Regions from separate parts of the Homo sapiens genome. Here region 1 is linked to region 2. Evidence: promoter capture Hi-C in human tissues and cell types (Jung and others, 2019). All regions are on one chromosome and are shown on one strand. The core of a region is centred on a gene start or on the middle of the fragment in contact, and the rest is flanking DNA. Distances in the headings are between cores, read along the strand shown.

Evidence for each region. The method cuts DNA at HindIII sites, captures the fragments that hold promoters and counts their contacts. A contact is called where the count stands out against the background at its distance.
Region 1: a contact is called between a fragment that was not itself captured here and the fragment with the promoter of SLC17A1 in region 2, in 1 of the 25 tissues and cell types used here (liver).

Annotation. Positions count from the first base shown.
Region 1 is chr6:25,875,213-25,880,154 of GRCh38, reverse strand. No RefSeq gene overlaps it. Among named protein-coding and RNA genes, the nearest start is that of SLC17A3, 3.4 kb to the right of the region's middle. The HindIII fragment of the contact is 5,482 bases long and covers 573-4,942 here.
Region 2 is chr6:25,828,602-25,833,415 of GRCh38, reverse strand. SLC17A1 (solute carrier family 17 member 1) reads left to right here and starts at 1,364. Exons shown (of 13, transcript NM_005074.5): 1 at 1,364-1,422; 2 at 2,809-2,892. The coding sequence starts at 2,859. The HindIII fragment of the contact is 3,299 bases long and covers 569-3,867 here.

The DNA.
Region 1 (4,942 bases), core at 2,064-4,563, 45 kb before region 2:
CCAAAACTGCCAACAGACTTGTCTGTTGCCTCTTGGAGTAGATTTAAGAGAAGGGAGAAGGTGCAAAAGAACAGCTGAAATAAGAGTTCCAAAGGTCTTCATTTATTTTGGGGCAGAGATTTAATTCCAGTCTCTGGTCCCTGGAACTGTGCTTGTTACAGCTGCTCATTCTTATATTCTGTGACCTACCTCAGTCTCCATATTTTCTTTTTCTCTTTCTTTCTCTTCCAAAGCCATTTCAGTTGGACTTCTATCACTTGTAAGCACAGGTGTCTGACAAATAGAAGCCACAACTGAGTACAATAAAAACTAAACTCTGCAATACAAAGGCCAATAAATAGGTTTGGCCCTTAATCCTCTCTTGTAACAACATTGACATGATCTTGCTCCTCATCCTGGTTTAGCACCAAGAGAAAAATAAGAGTCTGAGTGGGAGAGGGAGGAATCAAAAGGAACTGAGCCAAATTAAGAGCTTTTGGTGTAAATGTTGGAAGCTGAGAAAAGCCATGTCAAGCCGCAGCAAACTCCCCTTCATAAAGGAGGCAGAGGGAAAAAATAAAATAAAAAAGAGGAGAATAAGAGAGAAATTACCCTTTTCATTTTTCTCCAAGCTAAGACTTGCAATCTAGCTACACTTTAAGTGATTGATGTGGTCACTAGGGGCTAAGAAATAAAAATGTTTCAGGTAAGAACATGGAGCTCCCAGATTCAAAATGCCAGCACCTCATACACCCATCCCGGCAGCACAACCAACATTCACCCTCATCTGCTAAGACAAGTTCTCAGAATCAGAAAGTTCATTAACCTGAACTTCAGTAGTAAATAACATTTAAGTTTTGGAAAGGTATTCTTCTATTTGGCAATTCAACACCATCGCTTGTAACAAAAACCAATAGACAAGTACAACTCAACATCCTCAAGACAGAGCACCAAAATTAACAGAAAAACTAGAACCCCTCTCCAAACTAGAAGAATGTTAGTATAAATATTTAACATAAATAAATGAATAATATCAGAAATATATGCTGACATACTTAAAACAAAAATTAGATATGTGAAAAGGAAGGTTTTCTTAGAAATGACAAATATCCTTAGAATTAGGGAAGAAGGAAAGAAATAAGAAAGGAAGGGAAAGAGGAAGGAAAGAATAAGAAAAAAATGAAGCAGGGAAGAAGGAAGGAAAGGAGAGAAGGAGGGAAGGAGGGAGGAAGGAAGAAGGAAAGAAGGAAGGAAGGAAGGGAAGGAAGGTAGGCAGGTGATCTCAGGAATTTGGAAGAAAATTGATACAGGTGAAATTCACAGTAATGCCAAGATACAAAAGGAAGAATAATGAGAGGGAAATTTTATAGGAAACTGATGTTGAAAGTTGGTTTCAATGTTTGCGTAACAGATGAAATAGTCTGGAGGGTAAGAGAATGGACACAACAGCCAGACTTTCTGGGTGGTTGGATTCCTGACTCCGTAGCTTACTAGCAAGTTACTTAACCTCTCTGTAAACTGGCATAATAATAGTACCTACCATAGAAGTTTGCTATGAGAAGTAAAAGTGTTATTGTATGTAAAGTGCTTAGAATAGTGTTCAGCACGTATTTAGTGTTAAATAGGCCTTATTACAAGGAGTCTCTGAAAAGGGGGTGAGGGGCAGAGTAGAAGAATGATTACAAAGAAAGAGATAACCACCATCTTTATTTGAGGATATATTTAGTAAATTAAATTATATGGAAAATTATTTTGGAATATTGGTTGGAATGGCATATGGATTAGTCTGGAGAGACGAGATTTTTACATTTTTGAATGTTCCTGTTCATAAAAATGTTATGTCTCTTTATTTAGTTCGACTTCAATACCTTACAATAAAGCTTTACAATTTTCTGCGTAACGATCTTCTACATCTTTTATTAGATTTATTCCTAGGTTTTATATCCTTTTGTGGCTGTTACATTCTTTTATTGCCATTGTGAATTGTATCTCTTTTTATAATATCTTTTTTTTTGTTTTGGGCTGGTAATTAAAATGCAGTCAGTCTTTGAATATCACTTTTCCATCTGTCAAATTTGCCAAACTCACATTAGTTAAGTAATTTATGTACAGATTTTTTTTGTTTTCTTATGTAGACAATCATATCATCTGTTAATAATCATAGTTTTACTTGTTTTCTAATTGCTTCACATTTCTTTCTTGTGTTATTGTGCTAGTTAGGCCTTCCAGTGAATAGATGTAGCAAACACCTCTTTTATGTATCTGATTGTAACAGGAAGATTCACCTTCGGAATGTTTGTTGTAGGTTTTACAGATGCTGTTTATTAAATACAGGGAATTTTATTTTATTCATTGTTTCTAGGGAATGCTATCCCTTTACATTTCTTTTTGGAATGCATACAGTAACAATATTTTTTGACTGATGGCTGACTGCCTCCAACTTTTTAATTAAATTATATTTGATTATTTTGAATGAATTTGATTTTTAATTGCTTTATTTCAATCATGAATATTAATCATGACGTCTCAGAGGTGGTCATAGAAATAATAATGGTAATGATAATTATGACAGATGACCTTCATTGATTGATTTTCTGTTATATGCAAAGTATGGTGGATGGTTTCATTTTGTTTCATGATTTATTCCTAATTTTTTTCAATGATCTCCAAGTGAGACTCAACAAAGTAAAATACATTTACTCTAAGTCCCTGGTAGTAGGTGAAGTTGTCTTGATATGAATTCAGCATGGTATAATTTTGTAACTTGTGCTGGTTAAAGAATGCAACACTTTCTCACTTGATAATTATGACATCCTTTATGCACTACAGATATCAATTTTGTTTACTATTCTATCTGAAAGCATATAACACCTCAGCCCATAAGCACTCCTGATTTTTTTTTTGTGTATTCTCCTAGAGATTATACTTGTCACAATTGTTCTTTCTTCTTTTCCATAGCCATTGTCCTCAATATATGATTTTGCAGTTTTAGCTGGGCATTCCTGGCAAAATAGTTGCTGAAAGAAATGGCATCGAAACTGGAAAGTAGACTAGAAAGCAGACATGTGTAAGGAAAAAAGTAAGACGTGTTTTCAGTATGGCAATCTAGGACATAAGTTAATGCATTGTGTAGATAACAAAAAATGCACCATTTTGCTCAGCGATAGAAGACAAAATAATAGAGATGGAGTGTTCCACTAGTGTTCTAGATGGACTTCCAAGCCCATGACCAGATGATGTCAGCCTGATAACTACAGTGACCAGATTGACCCCATTTGTCATAGAGATGGTAAGGCAAAACAGGAGTCTGACTTGAACTTGGAGAAAAAAGGATTTGCCAGAACCATGAAGATGTAAGGTTCTGAGCAGATATAACATCACATATGGGTTCATTGTTTAGACCAGAGTGTGTGTGAAAAACCAGCCAAGCTCCAGTGAATGACCACTGCCATTTAGTCAAGTCTTCTGTTTTAAGACTTAGGCTCATTCAGTGTGTTTGCTTGACAGCTACCCCTGATTCATCAGAATCCCTGCTGACATTGTGAGCTTTGAGGGAAGGTCTGACTCTTAAAGGTGCTTCCTCTCCCTGGACCCATCCTGGGCTTCCTCTAGGAAGACTAGAGACAGGTTTCCTATGATCACAACAGGATTGTGCACTGGAGTCCTCTGAAATGTAACCCAGAATCAGAGCCTGCATCCTGCTGAGCTGTCATGTGACTGATTATTAACAACAATGTTCACAGTCTTATGAAACAAGTCTGAAGATAGCTGTTTTTTTTTTTTTTTTTGGTTGTTGTTTTGTTTTAGAGAGAGTCTTGCTGTGTCATCTAGGCTGGAGTGCACTGGCATGATCATAGCTCACTGTAACCTTGAACTCCTAGGCTCAAGGAATCCTCCTCATCAGCCTCCTGAGTAGTTAGGACTACAAATGCGTCCTCCATCTCCAGCCAATTTTCTAAAAAAAATTTGTAGAGAGGAGGTCTCACTGTTGCCCATGCTTGTCTCAAACTCCTGGCCTCAAGTAATCCTCTGGCCTTGGCCACCCAAAGCACTGGGATTACAGGCGTGAAGCACCACGCCTGGCTAAAGATAACTGTTAAAGGAGAAATGTGTACTCTATCTTTTCTGATGATCCCCATGGCTAAAACAAAGCAGTTTAAAAATAAATCTTATTCAAAAGGAAAATGTAAAATTCTTTTTTTAAAAGAGATGGATATTACAACCTAAGTCAAGGAAATATCTCAATTCATATTCAAGTGTTTAATCATAGAGGTGAAGAAAAGCTGAATTGTTATTCTTTCTACACAGAGACAATTTGGGTCTATTTCTACCAAGTCAAACCAAGTAGCATGTAAAGAACTCAGGAGCACTTTAAATAAAGTTAAACATTAAATTGCAAAACCAAGTAACGTTTTCTGACTTGGATAATTCAGGGTCAGAAACATTTCCTGTGATATGTGAATCCCAAAGTTGATCATTATTTATCCCAGGGTCCAGAGTCCTTCAGAAATGACTCAGGGAAAAATCTTTTACCTAGAAAGGTGAAATTGACACTACCCCCACACGATAACGGGCTTAAATTTTCCATACTTAAATTCTTAAAGTGCAGATGGAAGAAATCTGTTTTTTTTCTTTTATGTTATAAAGAATATAATAAAACTTACCTGAAAGCATTGTGAGGATGACATGTAATAAATGCGCAGTAAATGGTAGCTCTGACTCCCCAGGACCCGGGTTCCTCCTTCTGAATTCTTGATCTGTGATATATACTGCCAGGCTCCCACTTCTCAGCCAGGGTGTTGAGAGGTAGTTTACTCACTCTCCTCTCACAATACAGTTCAAATAGGTATAAAGAGTCAAACTTAGAATCTAAAGGAGATCTCCTCAGGGCCATAAAGTAAGAAGGGATTTAAAGTCAAAGTGATGAGTATGAGCTAAGGCCAGGAAAGCCATTAAAGCACAG
Region 2 (4,814 bases), core at 115-2,614:
TGAACAACTGCTGACCTAGGGGTTTCAATCACTAAAAGGGCTCCTCTTTCAGAAAATGCCAGAAATTGCCCAGCATGAAACAGGACAGTACAAACATTCTGCAACACACAGAAGAGGACCAGCAGAATCTGGACTTTTGAAAAAGAAAAAATCTAACTGAATAACAACATCAAAGTCTCCTGGGCAAAGGGGTTAAAGATTTACAACATTTCTTTAGAGGAAAAAAATAACTGGTTGAATTTACAGAGCATCTGCTATGTGCCAAACATTTAATGAGCACTTTAAAAGCATGATAAAAATTAAAAAAAAACTTGTTAAGCATGAAATAAATTACCTATAATGCAAAATCACTGATTTTAGTGCTTGGATATTTTTAAGTAATTAGTAGATTACCTTCAAAGAGTTCTAAGTTAAAAGTATTAGGGGCCAGGCACGACGGCTCACGCCTGTCATTCCAACACTTGGGAGGCCAAGGCACAAGGATTGCTTGTGGCAGGAAGTTTGATATCAACCTGGGCAACACAGCAAGACCCTGTCTCTACCAATTAGCTGGGTACAGTGTTGCATACCTGTAATCCCAGCTACTTGGGGCTGAAGTGGAAGGATCCCTTGAGCTCAGGAGTTCAAGTCTGCACTGAGCTATAATTGCACCATAGCACTCCAGCCTGGGTGACAGTGTGAGATCCTGTCTCTCTATGTTTTTTTTTTAATGTTTCTGGATATTGCTATAACCAAGTGGATGAACCAGAACCTACAGTAATTGCAGGAAGAGCCATGAGAGAAGCCACACCTTCCAGAGGACATGCCTCAATAAAATGTACCTCTTTCTGAGTATGCTGAATGTCAAACAGATGTACTGTTTAGAGAGGAGTGTGGAGGAGACAGGGTGAGGGAAGGAGGGAAAGCAAGGAAGGAGGGAGAAGGAAGAAGGGAAAGAGAAGGAAGAAAGAAAGAAAAAAGGAAGAAAAGGAGGAAGAAAGGAAGGAAGGGAATTAAGAGTAAAAATTTAATATGGCATTTATGGGGCATTTAGAAAGCCACAACATTCCTGTGAGAACAGCATTGTATACTCAGAGCCATCCTTAATAGAGAAATCTTGAGAGCACTTATGGCAGGCAAGCTCTACCTCCTGGGCAGGGAGAGAGACTAAGGGTGTCTGCTTATTATGCCATGAAATTACTGGCAGATTCCCAGTTTCTGGTCCACTGGATGATTTTGACCCACACACCTTCCCTGAAGCTTTAAGGAAAAGGTAACAGTAAAGTTAAAAATTAAGCTTTTAACTTCGACACAGTGATGTCAAAAGATTTGGTGAATGATTTATGGGGCTAAACTTGGTAATCCTAGAAAGTCAATATTGTGTAAAGTTGAGAGAAAAGTCTTCACAGCGGAAGAAGAAATCACTTTTTTGTCCCGAATCAGGTTAGTCTACGGGGCTCATTAAATGAAATGAGCAATCAGTTGATTCCCCAGAGGGCCGTAAGGGGGCATTCCCTGGCAAAGATATTATTGAAAGTACTTAGCAATAGGGGAAAATGTGGGGAGGGGTGGAATATGCCCTATCTTCTGAGGCTTTTCACAAGAGAAAAAAGAACATATTTTTAGCAATCAGTGTGAGGTTCACAGGGACACAAGGAAAGAGAAGTATGTGTTGTACAGTGTGTGATGCTTGTATAGCTGTGGTGTGCTGTGTCTGTAATGTGTGTGGCACACTGTGTACGCCTGGTGCATCTGTGCCCATCATTTATGTGTGTGTGTGGTTATGTGTGTGGTGTTTGTAGTTTGTACTTCCGTTTTGAGGATGCAGTATTGTAACGTATTTATATGTTTGGTTTGCTATGTGTCTGGAGTGTATGTGTGGAGAACATAAGGGGAGTTTGTACCATGTGTTTATGTTGTATGTATGTATGTGGTGCATACGTATGGGTGGTTTGTGTGTGCATTTGGTGTGTATGTATATATGTATTGAAATAAACAGCAGCCCCAGAAGAGGTTCCAATGTGTGATAATGATGGTTGACAAATTGCTTATTCAAAAATATTTTGCAAATCCAATCTCAGGACTTTGGTATCTTTGGGGCACTAGGTATCATATAATCTGATATGGTAAAATCCTGAGGTCTAACCTGACCAGCACATATTGGTGCTGAATTCTGATGGTAAGGGGTTGCCTGATAGGAGACTGCTCCATTCTGATTCTCCACTGAGCTTCCTGCCATAAAGCTTTGCATCAGTGGCTGCTCTATCCACGGAAACTGAAGATACGGACAGGGGCATGTGGACGTGTAACGAATGATTAGCCTCTGCTTGAGTTGATCTTATCAATAAGCAGATAGTATCTTCCAGCTCTATTAAGATACAGGGGGAAAAAAGGAATTTGTTTTACCTTTGCTTACTCCTTTTCTGACATTCTTCCTTTCTTTTCATACTGCCGAGTTTCTGACCTATAGCAATCTCCTTCTGCCTGAAAGGCTTCTTTTAGTGTTCCTTACAGGGCAGGTCTACTGGCAATGAATTCTTTCCATTTCTCACTTTGGAGGAATATTATCACGGATTTAGAATTCTGGATTGGCAGGGTTATTTGTTTGTTCTCTGTAGTTTTCAGGTCTTCCATATATTTTTAATCAACCAAAACAATCACAAAAGTAAAATAAATATCAAGGGAAGCACATAATGGAGGTGAATGGGCACTGCTGTGATGGAGCAAGTTATCCTTGGAAGCGGTTTTAAATCAGAGAGGAGTACTGGGTAGTGTTTGGTCAGTTGCCTCTCTACATTATGCTGACATCAACGTGTTTTGCACTCACAGTGGGTGGAGGCAAAACCCTTCAGCAAGAAGAGAAGCAACTTCAGCCGTGTATGCAAATGGATAACCGGTTGCCTCCCAAAAAAGGTAGCACTTTATTCTGTTCCATTAAACAGGTGTTCTTTTTCTTAAATATTACATCACAGATTCCATGTGGAAGAATATTTTTGTGATATACATATGGGGTCTTAAAAATGTTCAGAAAAGAAGGTAGAAGAAACCAGTCCTACTATGGTTTTCCACCAGAAAAGCCCTAAATAAAAAGATTCTACATACTCTGGTGGCTTACACTTTATTTTCATTTTTGCGCACTTGTCAGTTTATCATTTAGTGGAAAATATCAGAAAAAACTGGGCTATTTTGGTTCCATCTCCAAGAGAAAGAGAGATAGATCTGTAAGTGGAAGTAAGGCAGGATGAATGTTCTTGAGTCCCTGCATTCTTGGACATCAACAGCTGAATGTGTACTGAATATTTTTTGAGAGAAGCTGTTTATTTTAGGCAGGGTAGTGTAATGACAATAAAGGATTACTGCTATTGGTTTAGCGTTGTGTCAATGTCATAGGGGACAAAATCCCAGAAAAGGAGATGAGCGATAGATTGTATACTTTTTCAACTTATGAAAAAGTTACTGTATATTAAATTATGTATTTCTTCTTGTATCAACTTTGATACTTAATTATTTTGATTGTTTAAGTTGTCCATTTAATCTGCATTCAAAGTTTATATATATATGTTTTTTTCTATATATTATTCATTTCTGCCCTTATGCATTTAATTCCTTTTAGACTTTTTGGGTTTGTTCCTTTGCTCAGTTTCCAAGTGTTTAAATTCTTTCTTTTTTGATAAATATATTTACAGATGCACATTTTACTCTGTCCATGAGTTTGATATGCGGTATTCTTATTACTCAATCCCAAACACTTTAGAATTCCCCCTGTGGTCTTCTTTTTAACTTAAAACTTGTTTAGACATAATTCATGGACTTCCTGGAGCAATGTGGAGGAGAGAAATGAGTAAAACTCAAAAGCATACCCCTAAATGACTAAGACAATGAGCCCTTCTCTGACATGGTGACAATGACTTCCCTTTTACCATGTAGAGACTCCTGCAGGTGTGTTTACAAAGTTTCTGATAGCTTTCTAGATCCATTCACTTCCCTATGATACTGAGTTTAGGCAGCAAATCAAAGGAAGGGCTGGCTGATGATTAAATTTCTCAGGGGTATTCTTTTACCCCCTTCTATTCAGCTCTTAAGTTCATATGGCACAAAATTTCTTGGCAGTCCACTGACAAGATAAGGGGGCAATGTGTTCATCCTCCATTGAACCATGTAAATCTTTGACATCCAAGCATTTTAGGAGAGGGTCTCCTACTATACACTATCGCATCGCTAGGACCTTGGTATTTGATTCCTGTTGTCCCCATATCATGGAAGGCCAAAAATCCCAAGATCAAAAGTCCACAGTGAAACATCTGACTTCAAGGCCCAACTTATGTTTTGAGGCCCCCATCTTCACTAAGCCCTTGGCCTGAATATTTCATCTTTCCTCTTAGATCACCCATGCTTTTAAAAAAATGGTTTATTTTAAGCATATTTTATCTAATATTCTTATCTTTTAACAACGGAAGCTCAGTTGGCCAGAAAACTAGCCAACTATTTGTTGGGTACTAATGCTTTTTTTCATTTAACAGTTTATCTAAAGAGTATTCCACAATTTTTGGCAGAGATTTTCCTTAGCATTTTTATAGCTGCAAATGACTTTGGTATGGATGGATATATTATAATTTATTTAAATGGTCACTGATTTATAAACATCTAATTTGTTTACAGTCTTTTGCTAGTTCAAACGATTCTATAAGAATGTTGCAAAATGATATAAAATTCAATTCGGTAAGATGATGTAAAATATTTATTATCTAATAAAATAGCTTCCAATATATAAAGCAAAATAGTCTTATGAAAATTATAAAGACACCAAATCCTAAATAAAATATTAACAGAACAAA